2 separate regions of the Homo sapiens genome follow, and region 2 is linked to region 1. The links are contacts of gene promoters, found by promoter capture Hi-C in blood cells and fetal thymus (Javierre and others, 2016). All regions are on one chromosome and are shown on one strand. Each heading gives the region's core, a stretch centred on a gene start or on the middle of the fragment in contact. The rest is flanking DNA. Distances are from core to core; before and after follow the strand shown. Region 1 holds the start of FOS (Fos proto-oncogene, AP-1 transcription factor subunit). Region 2 overlaps BATF (basic leucine zipper ATF-like transcription factor).

Region 1 (5,457 bases), core at 921-3,420:
AAGGCCTCCTCAGACTCCGGGGTGGCAACCTCTGGCAGGCCCCCAGTCAGATCAAGGGAAGCCACAGACATCTCTTCTGGGAAGCCCAGGTCATCAGGGATCTTGCAGGCAGGTCGGTGAGCTGCCAGGATGAACTCTAGTTTTTCCTTCTCCTTCAGCAGGTTGGCAATCTCGGTCTGCAAAGCAGACTTCTCATCTTCTAGTTGGTCTGTCTCCTGTATACAGAGGGATAAAGGAAAGCATAAGACACAGTCTTACTCAAGGGCCCTTATGCTCAATCTCCAACTTTCCCCTTAAGTTTTAAAAAGGAGCAACCCACAGAGTACCTACCGCTTGGAGTGTATCAGTCAGCTCCCTCCTCCGGTTGCGGCATTTGGCTGCAGCCATCTTATTCCTTTCCCTTCGGATTCTCCTTTTCTCTTCTTCTTCTGGAGATAACTAGAATAATCACAAAAAAAGACCGACATTCAGTAAAAGTGTCTGCCATCACCTCCATTCACCCACCCCAGTAGAACTGGCTCCTGCAGCTTCCCTGCTTCCTGGCACCCCACTGTGAAACCATTTCTGACCTGCAGTTGCAGACTAGGTGTGACTTGCATTTAAAATAAGATCCTCAGCAAGAGAACAAAGAAGAGCCCAGTCTGAAAGCATGCGGTAAGAAACTTAGGGAAGAAACTATGAGAGTACTTCTTAGGGTGAGACTCAGAGTCTGAGTTGGGATGGAATGGGCTTGGAGCCAGGGCTCCCAGTTACGGATGTGCAGCCAGCCCCATCAGTGGCTTCATCCTCTGTACTGGGCTCCTGCATCTCCGGGGCTGCTTCCCACCCAGCCCCCACATTCCCAGGAAGAGTACGCTAGAGTTCCTCACCTGTTCCACCTTGCCCCTCCTGCCAATGCTCTGCGCTCGGCCTCCTGTCATGGTCTTCACAACGCCAGCCCTGGAGTAAGCCCCAGCGGAGGGGGCGGGGACTCCGAAAGGGTGAGGGGCTCTGGTCTGCGATGGGGCCACGGAGGAGACGAGGGCGGGCTGCACCAGCCACTGCAGGTCCGGACTGGTCGAGATGGCAGTGACCGTGGGAATGAAGTTGGCACTGGAGACGGCCAGGTCCGTGCAGAAGTCCTAGAACAAAACAGAAGGGGAAAGCCGACGTGAGCGAGCAGGTTCCGGACACAGGTGGGGCGAGTTCCCAGTGCCGCATGCAGCAGTGAAGAGAAACGATCCTGCCACGGACATTTCATCTTAAATGTCCCTCATCCTGGATGAAAGGTCTCCCCCTTTTCCTCCCAGGCATTCCGCAGCGCAGTGCCTGTCTCTTCCATCCTGCCGCTGCGTTCCCGTTATCCCTTCAGCATCACTTGCTTGAAAGGGGGTTTGTTATAAATATCCCTGACGTCTGCGCTGACGCAGGCGCCGCTCCGGAGTCTCCAGAATGAACTCGCTTTTTATCAATGAAACTGCCTTACACACCCGCCCGCTGCACCCTCCTCCCTCATCCCTCCTCCGTGCTCCAGGCTGCCGGGGGAGGGGGGATTGCCGCTTTCTGCCACCTCCCCGGAGAAGCCAGGCTCTAGTTAGCGAGTTTGTGCTTGGGACACGTCTGCTCCAGCTAATGTCAGAGATCCGTCCTGGAGTGCAGACCAGAGGTTGCTCAGAACGAACCTGCCTCCCGAAGGGGGAACCAATTCTTACTATGGCAAGCGTGCGTGCGCTCAGAGCAAGTCCCGAGCCCCCGAGCCGGCACCGCTCCGGCCACGGCAGCCTCCCTCCAGGCACAAGGGAGCCCCCTACTCATCTACTGGAGCGTCCCGCCCGGTGTCTCCTCCTCCGCGACCCCAAGCCCCCGGCCCCGCGGCGACGGGAAGCCAGCCTTACCTGCGCGTTGACAGGCGAGCCCATGCTGGAGAAGGAGTCTGCGGGTGAGTGGTAGTAAGAGAGGCTATCCCCGGCCGGGGACGCGCTGCTGCAGCGGGAGGATGACGCCTCGTAGTCTGCGTTGAAGCCCGAGAACATCATCGTGGCGGTTAGGCAAAGCCGGGCGAGGGGCCGAGGGGCGGAGACAGGTGGGCGCTGTGGAGCAGAGCTGGGTAGGAGCACGGTCACTGCTCGTTCGCTGCGCCGCGGCCGCCGGCTCAGTCTTGGCTTCTCAGATGCTCGCTGCAGATGCGGTTGGAGTACGAGGCGCCGCAGCCACTGCTTTTATAACAAGCGTTTTATGAATGAGTGTAAACGTCACGGGCTCAACCACGGTGGCGCCAGAGGGGTGGCGCGCGGGCCTGGGCGCTTCTGCGGCCGCCCGGCTGCGTCCCCAGCGCTCGCAGCTCCCTGCCCCCGCCTTGGCGCGTGTCCTAATCTCGTGAGCATTTCGCAGTTCCTGTCTCAGAGGTCTCGTGGGCCCCCCAAGATGAGGGGTTTCGGGGATGGCTCCCCCCAGGGCTACAGGGAAAGGCCGTGGAAACCTGCTGACGCAGATGTCCTAATATGGACATCCTGTGTAAGGGGGGAGGGATTGACGGGAACTGCTCGCGGGCTGCAGCCAACACCGAGGGTGCAGTGCGGGGGGAGGCGGGGGCCGCGGCTGGGGGAGGGGAGGCGGGAACGGCGCAGAATGAGAGAGAACATTCGCACCTGGTTCAATGCGGACCCTTGTTCCCGAGGTCGGGGGGGATGGGGCAGAGAGCGCCTTTTTACCCTTGTACGGAAACTGAAGACAGTTCTGAGGCTCAGAGATAGGAGAAACGGCATCGAGTACAGGACCCCGAGGACTTAAGCCTCGGCTCCCGAAGGAATGCGCCCCTACCCCCATCCCCAATTCTAGCCCTAATTCAGTGCAAAGCGTGGAAGCAGACCTTCATCCCCTAACCTCCAGCCCTCGGGCTCGAGCAATACTAGCACTGTTCCTGCGTTTGGAAGCAGAAAGTGGAGGATCCAAAATAAGAGAATACGATAACCTACTTTACGATACTGGGTACTTTATTTATTTATTTTTTTAAAGAAGACAGCGCATTTATTTATTTATTTTTCTCGGCCATGTGTGGGAATATTAAGGAAACTGTCAAATCCCTGAGACACCAGCAGATAAACACTGTGCAAAACCTACGTGCGAAGACATTTGAAGGGGGTGTCTGCCCGGTTCTGAGCTGGGCCCCAGGGGTAGGGAGTGCGAGGTGTGGTTATGTGGGCAGGGTGGTCAGTTCGGGATGACAAGGCGGGGTGTGCTTCCTGCGGGGAACTCAAATCTGCGCTGAGGGCTGGTTCGGTCCCGCCAGGAAGCTGTGCTTACGGGAGCCCGCAGCGGGTGATTTTCCAGCGCGGACTTGGAGGGTGGAGGACGGGGGCTGGAAGGACAGTGTCCAGCTGCGCCTGGGCGGAATACCTCGACTGCTGGGACCCCAGGAGCGGCTCCACGTCCTGGAACACGGGGCTTTGGGGAGGCAAGGTGCTCCAGAGTGTGCCACGCCCCCCAATCTCCTGCCCTGCTGCGTAGGACAGCCGGGGTCACGCTGCCGGGGCTCAGCCCCAGCGCGCTGGCCACCTCCAGGGCGCGAAGACGCATGTCCCCGCACAGCCCCGGTCTTCCCTTCTCCACTCTTCGGGCCCGGGGGTCGGGGCCCGCGGTGGGCACCTGGAGAGGGGCGAGGCAGGATGAGGCCGGCGGGCGGATAGTTCGGGGCGCGCGGGGAGCCGGACCGCAGACCTGCCTCCAGCCGCCGCGCCCGGGAGCCAGGAGATCCTGCTATAGATAGTAACAGGGAAGCGGCTGTTTACAGCAACACAGCGCCGCCAGGGCCGTCTCCAGGCAACGCCGCGCGGCCGGGCGCGCCGTCGGCCTGGCGAGGCCACCCTCCCTCCCAGCTCCCCTGGGCCGCGGCCTCCCCGGCCCGGCCGCGGCCGCTCCCGTCGCCTGACATCATCCGCCGGGTCCGGGGGCTGAGCGGCCCGCGCGAGGCTGTGCGCTAACCTCCATTCTTAGAGATCCAACCCGGCAGGAGCGGGGAGGGCAGGAGGCGGGGATTCGTGGAACTGGGCCACTTGCTATTTTTGCATTCCCTGTCACAGGCAGAGGTGAAAACAGAATTTCATCATTGTATGTCATTGGTTTATGTTGGTGGGAATTTAGGCGCTTTTTTTTCTCACTCATAAAAAGGGAGGGAAACGGAAAAACACACATAATACGTAAACACAGATTCCTTGGAGCTGCTCTGAATCCTAAAGCAATTCTGCGGCCTTCGGTACTTCTAATTCTATCCTTGATTACAGAAAGAAAGAGGGGGACGGGAGGGAAAGGGGTTATGAAGCCAAATACATCTCTCTTATTATTAATATTAGCTTCAGACAAAATAGGTCAAGCTTTGAATTCCTGAGTCTGGCCATGACTGCCATTCACAACTAGATCTCAGGCCACTTAACAGGAAACCTGACTGGGTGCGGTGGCTCACTCCTGTAATTCCTGCACTTTGGGAGCCCGAGGCGGGTGGATCACTTGAGGCCAGGAGTTCGAGACCAGCTTGGCCATCATGGTGAAACTCTGTCCCTGCTAAAAATACAAAACAGCCGGGTGTGGTGGCGCACGCCTGTAGTCCCAGCTACTCAGGAGGCTGAGGCAGGAGAATTGCTTGAACCCGGGAGGCAGAGGTTCCTGTGAGCCGAGATCGTGCCACCGCACTCCAGCCTGGGCAACAGAGCAAGATTCTGTCTCCAAAAGAAAAGAAAAGAAAACCTAGAATGATTTGATTTACTTCCCTTTCAGGTCCAAAGCATCTCGGCCAATACCTAAAAGATGTGTCAAGATTTTATATCCAGGATTTATCTCAAATACACTTATCCTGCCTTTGCCAATTAAAAAAAAAAAAAAGAAGAAGGGTCTTTGAGTGAGCCTATTTCCTCCAGATAGCTTAACTCTTTCCTTCTGGCACCATTATGACCAGAGTTGGAGACTTACTAAATCCATCCTCTGGAAAGGACAAACTAAGTCCATCCTCTGGAAAGGACAAACCATTATTTAACAAATAATTTTGTTCAATTATTTATTTAACAAAACTATTGACTGGGCTGGAGGCTGGTGCTCACTGTAATGAAGAGGGTAGGCCTGTCCCGACCCTCAGAGAGATTCCAGTCTCATAGGAAGACCAACAAGTCAATCGAGCTTACAGGGTAGCAGTAAGTGGTTTGAAAGAGGTAAGAAAGGGGTGCCAGGCAACACAGAAGAAGGCTTGGAAACAGGTCCCAGAGGAGGTGACTGCAATACAGAGATGGGGCTCAGATCCTCTGTCCTCTGGATAATGGAATGATAAAGATTGAGTAAGGCCAGAGCATCATCCAGGCAAACCAAGTGCTCAACCAGAAGCCACAGTATAGGCCAATACAATCTCAGACTCCCTCTCCTGCCCCACTAACATCCGAACCTGTGATCATTCTAACATATTCTCACATCTCAATCTGCTCATGGTATCCATTT
Region 2 (5,457 bases), core at 814-3,313, 260 kb before region 1:
GAGGATGGCTGCTTAGAGAGAAGGAGCTTGGTTCTTCCTTGCTGTAGCCTGGTCTCTCCACTTTTGAACTTCTTGTTACATGAGAAAAGTAGGCCATGATTTGTTGATTCCTCATTTGATGGCTGGTCTCTCACTTGTCTCTGAATGCATGCAATCTTGGCTGATACTGATGCTTCGAGTTACAAAGGTTACCACTAGCAAGATTATCAATGTTCAAAACCAAACAACAAAACAAATAATAACTGCCATCAAAGCAAGGGTTTGAATAGTTTGTTTGTTTGTTTGTTTGTTTTTTGAGACCGTGTCTCGCTCTGTCGCCCAGGCTGGAGTGCAGTGGCACGATCTCGGCTCATTGCAAGCTCCGCCTCCCGGGTTCATGCCATTCTCCTGCCTCAGCCTCCCTAGTAGCTGGGACTACGGGCACCCGCCACCATGCCCGGCTAATTTTTTGTATTTTTAGTAGAGACATGGTTTCACCGTGTTAGCCAGGATGGTCTCGATCTCCTGACCTCGTGATCCACCCGCCTCGGGCTCCCAAAGTGTTGGGATTACAGGCGTGAGCCACCGCACCTGGCCGTTTGTTTTGTTTTAAGCCATCAGGCCACTGTATGTGACAGAGTATCTGTGTACTTACCCACACAATTGCCCCACACTCACTCCACACATTCTGCTCACTCCACACATTCTACTCACTCCACATATTCAGGTACAGACCTGATAGGCTGCAAATGTACTGCTTCTGATTCTCAACCCTGGCTGTGCACACTGCCAGCACCCGGAGAGCCTTAAACAGTCTGGATTCCTGGATGCCAGACCCCCAGAGGTTCCAATTTAATTGTTCTGGAGTGGTTGCAGGCATCAAGACTTTAAAAATGCTTCCTAAGTGAGCCAAATGGGCAAAAAATCATGTTCATAGTGGATTCCTTTTAATAATAACATAAGGCCAGGTGCAGTTGCTGTAATCCTAGCACTTTGGGAGGCTTCTTTGGCAGGAGGGTCATTTGAGCCCGGAAGTTTGAGACCAGCCTGGGCAACATAGTGATACCCAATCTTTACAAAAAATTTAAAAGTTAACCAGGCATAGTGGCACACACCTGTAGTCCCAGCTATTTGGGAGGCCAAGGTGGGAGGATCATTTGTGCCTGGGAGGTGGAGGCTGCAGTCAGCCATGATCGCACCACTGCACTCCAGCCTGGGAAAAGAGTGAAACCTTATCTCAAAATAATAAAAATATAACATAACTATATAGTGTTTGATTTTATTAAATTTGTTTGTTAACAAACAAATTAAATTTGTGAGACTTGCCCAGTTGTGAAAGGCCAAGCCCCTGAAACTACTGATATCCTTAAAGAGTTTATATTTTTACATATTTTCATTTTATTAAATATGTATTTTATTTTATCATTTATAGTATAATATTAAAAAATTTAAAGAGTTGGGAGACTATTTCTAGTTAAAAAAATTTCTAAAACAAAATGTCCATTTAAGCACACTACTATTATATTCTTAAATTGGTGGAAACAATTCTAAATAGTCCAGCACAGTTCATTCATATAATGGAAAGGCAAGAGCTCAGGGATCTATTCGTGTTTCATTAATTATAACTTTAACCGTTTCGTTTCCTTACCATTTACATTGTTGAGCTCTGTGAGGGCAGGAGCTATTATTGTCTTCACTGTTTTGTTCTCAGTGACAAGGACAGTGCCTGCCATAGAGTAAGTGTTCGATCAAATCACGTTGCTTGACTGCCAACTTATAATCTGGAATAATTTTCCAAAATCTGAGATGTGCCTATGAAGAAGGGTCAGCTGAGTAAATCTGTGATGTCCATGAGAATTCCTAGAGAGTGATTAACCACCACTCAAACACTTTAATAGCTTCTACTTTGTAAATCTGGGATACTTCCAAATGAATCCAAGAGATTCATTTTTTCAAAAGGCCTAGGTCAAACCTCTGTTTATTCCCCAAACTGAACCAACAGCGTGGGAGTGGCAGAATTACAACCACTTTAAGAACTTCGTCGTGCCATTTCCCTAGTTCAAATTTGACCCTCTCTCCATTCATACCCAACAAAGGAGACTTGCCTAGTTGTGAAAGGCCAAGCCCCTGAAACTACTGATATCCTTAAAGAGTTTATAAGCAACCAGAAAGAAGAACGTGTGTGTTCATGTAGGATAATATATCTGATTGATTTCTAGGAAAAGGGCAGGCTGTCTGCATTAAACAAAGGAACAGTGTAAAAAAAAAATGACAATATTGCTTTGTTCTTACATTTGCCCTCTCAATTAAACGGTCAAACAGCCTAGTGAGGTGCTATTGCTTCTCAACTTATGATCAGAGTTTAGGTTCAGAGAAATCCCCCAGGCAGGGTTTGAATTAGTTGGGTCCCCACCACATGCCCCATCCAGTTCCTGCTCCTAGCAGCACAATTGCCTTTATTTTATTTTATTTTATTTTATTTTATTTTATTTTAAAGACAGGATCTTGCCCTGTTGCCCAGGCTGGAGTGCAGTGGTGCTATCACAACTCACTGCAACCTCGACCTCTTGGACTTAAGCAAATCTCCCGCCTCAGCCTCCCAAGTAGGTGGGACCATAGGTGCATGCCTGGATATTTAAAAAAAATTTTTTTTTGTAGAGATGGGGTTTCACTGTGTTGCTCAGGCTGGTCTCGAACTCCTGGCCTCAAATGATCCAACCAACTCGGCCTCCCAAAGTGCTGGGATTACAGGTGTGAGCCACTGTGCTCAGCCCTACAATTGCCATTATTACTGAGTTCCTCCTCACTCCCTTATGGTCTTGAACTTGGTCTCCACCTTACCAAGCACCTTTCTGACCTTTGCCTGGCCTCGCAGCTTGGCCTCAAGGCTCTCTAGGCTGAGATCACCCTCTCCCCAGATCTTTCCAGTCTCCTCTTTGATTCACCTTTGATCTCAAATTCCAGGGCCTCAGGAAGGCCTCCCCTGATCGCTGCCCCAATCCCGTCCCTTAGACACTTTCCACATTGCATGATTTCATCTTCTTTGAAGCACTTTACATGTCATGTGATTAGTGTGTTTATTTGTTTTCCAGCCTGACTTCCAACTGACTGTAAGGTTCGTGAAATCAGAGACTCTGTCTGTCCTGTCCCTGCAATATTCTCAGTGCCTAGAACGAACTGTTCCTGGCTGATAAATATTTGTTGAGTAGATGAATCACTTCCGCTGATCTCAGCTCTAGTACTGATAATATGGCCTTTGCTTTATAATTTTCTGTGTCATCCTACTCTCTTAATGATAAGACATATTCTTATGCCAGCTGAGTACCCTTTTTTAGTTACAGGGTCCTCAGTTGCAGGAAATCACATTTTGGTCATAGGAATCCAGTCCCCTCTACTTGACTCTGAACTTTATCACTTCTGAGTTTTCATAAGAGCTTCATGTCATCTTTCTTGGTTTCCCTGTCTAGGGTGACCAGACATTTACTGGGACACCTGTTTTCCTGGTGTAATATTTACAAGTTCCATCTTCCACTCTCGAAGTATTCCTATTTGGGGTATAAATTATAAGGTCTCCTACCAAAACCTGATCCCCAAATTCGAGCTCAGTAATATTGTCTCTTTGTACTTGATGTCCTCCAGAGTTCCTTCAGCTCTCTATTTGGCCATTTTCTTCTGTTTCTTTAAAAATAAAAAAATACAGTATAACTACATTAAAGATATTTTTTAAAAGTTAAAAACGCCCATGATCCTAGTCCCTTAATACAGCTGTTTTCATTTACACATATTGAGATCTCATCCTTTTTGTTGACACAGGGTCTCACTCTATTACCCAGTCCAGAGTGCAGTGATGTAATCAGGGCTCACTGCAGCCTCAACCTCCTGGGCTCAAGTGATCTTCCCACCTCAGCCTCTAAAGTAGCTGGGTGCAAGCTACCACGCCTGGCTAATTATTTTTATTTTTATTTTTATATTTTGTAGAGACAGGATCTCACTCTGTTGCCCAGCTTGGTCTCAAGTCATCCTCCTGCCTTGGCCTCCGTATGTATTGGGATTACAGGCATGAACCATCCCACTTGGCCATCTCATCCTTTTGAACAAACATGCATACTTATTTTTACAAAATTTCAATCATAGTACACATACAATTTGTATTTTGCTTTCTGTCATAACTTTGTCACATCTACATAGTCAACATAATTTTTAATGACTGCATCATCAAATTGATTATCCACAATTTACTTAAAGTGGTCTTCTAATGCTGGACATCTTGGTTGCTATCAAATTGTCACTATTAAAAATAATGCTGAGATGAACATCGTGATGCACACTGGGTTTTGTCTCTGTTCAGTGATTTCCTTGGAGAAATTCCTAGGAATGAAATGAATGAGGCAAAGGAGGCATTCAATCTTCCCAGTCCTGAGAAGTATTACTGAAAAGGGGTCATATCAAGTATATAATGTCACCACTAGCGAATGCTTCTATCCATTTCACTACAACCTCACTGGCATTTAGGTGTTATAATTTTAAATAATTTACTTGTTGCCAATTAGCTTGATGAAGGCTTCTTAATTTCATGTTAATGTTACAGGTTGTCAAGTATTAAGGAGAAAGAACAACTTTCCATGTGTCTTTCTCCTTAGTGTAGCGTTCTCAACTAGGACTGATTTTGCCTTTCCAGGGACATTTAGCAAGTTCTGGAAATATTTTTGGTTATCAAACTAAGCAGGGTGAGGGGGTGTTCTACTGGCATCTTGTGGGTAAATTTTACATTTTACAAGGCACAGGACAATCCCCAACAACAAAGAATTATCGGACTCGAAGTATCAGTTCCACTGGGGTTGAGAAACCCTGCCTTAGTGTGTATCGTTTTCATAATCAGAATAGGAAATTAGGGTATTTTCATTTTGGTAGGAAAAATATTATGTAAGCTTTCTGTTCATTGCCTCTGCCCACTTGTCTATTGGAGTCCTGATGTTTTGCTTTATAAGAGTTTCTTTCTGTAGCATAAATATTAAACCTTCATTTCTTTAATTTGATGCAAATATTTTCCCCAATATGTCACTGCCCTTTCTAATTTTGGATTACAACTTTAAAATCTCTTTAAACAAAGAAACATTTACACTTCAGCCCCTGTCAAGTTTGGACTCACTCTCTTTCTGGTCTCATGTATAGCCGTATGTTCTGGAGCTGATGAGTGTCTAGGCAGTTCAAGTGTTCTGGTTAATGGCCTGCTTCTTGGCCCACCTTTGCAATAGGCCTTATGTAAACACCTGCCTAGTAAAGCTCTGTTCAGCAAAGTGGCATGAAACAAAAGCAGACTGGTGGGAAGGCAAGAGGTTTGGGTTCTTGGGCGTCCTCAGTTTCCTCATTGGAAATGTGGCAAGTCACCCTAGAAGATCTCTGAGTTCCCACTTAATTCTGAAATTTTATCAACAAGGTAGTATGACTATTATGATTGTTATTCCCTCCACAAGCCAT

Evidence for each region. The method cuts DNA at HindIII sites, captures the fragments that hold promoters and counts their contacts. A CHiCAGO score of 5 or more calls a contact.
Region 2: a contact is called between a fragment that was not itself captured here and the fragment with the promoter of FOS in region 1, in 3 of 17 cell types (activated CD4 T cells, total CD8 T cells and total CD4 T cells). The highest score is 9.2, in activated CD4 T cells.

Annotation. Positions count from the first base shown.
Region 1 is chr14:75,275,541-75,280,997 of GRCh38, reverse strand. It overlaps FOS (Fos proto-oncogene, AP-1 transcription factor subunit), which reads right to left and starts at 2,170. Exons shown (of 4, transcript NM_005252.4): 1 at 1,875-2,170; 2 at 870-1,121; 3 at 331-438; 4 at 1-215. The coding sequence starts at 2,015. RefSeq lists enhancers at 1-300, 327-1,252, 1,839-1,898, 1,253-2,180 and silencers at 2,269-2,328, 2,679-2,768, 3,497-4,006. The HindIII fragment of the contact is 6,704 bases long and covers 1-4,351 here.
Region 2 is chr14:75,533,739-75,539,195 of GRCh38, reverse strand. The region is part of intron 2 of BATF (basic leucine zipper ATF-like transcription factor); the gene reads right to left. Among named protein-coding and RNA genes, the nearest start is that of BATF, 14 kb to the right of the region's middle. RefSeq lists an enhancer at 62-111 and a silencer at 342-556. The HindIII fragment of the contact is 5,692 bases long and covers 1-4,909 here.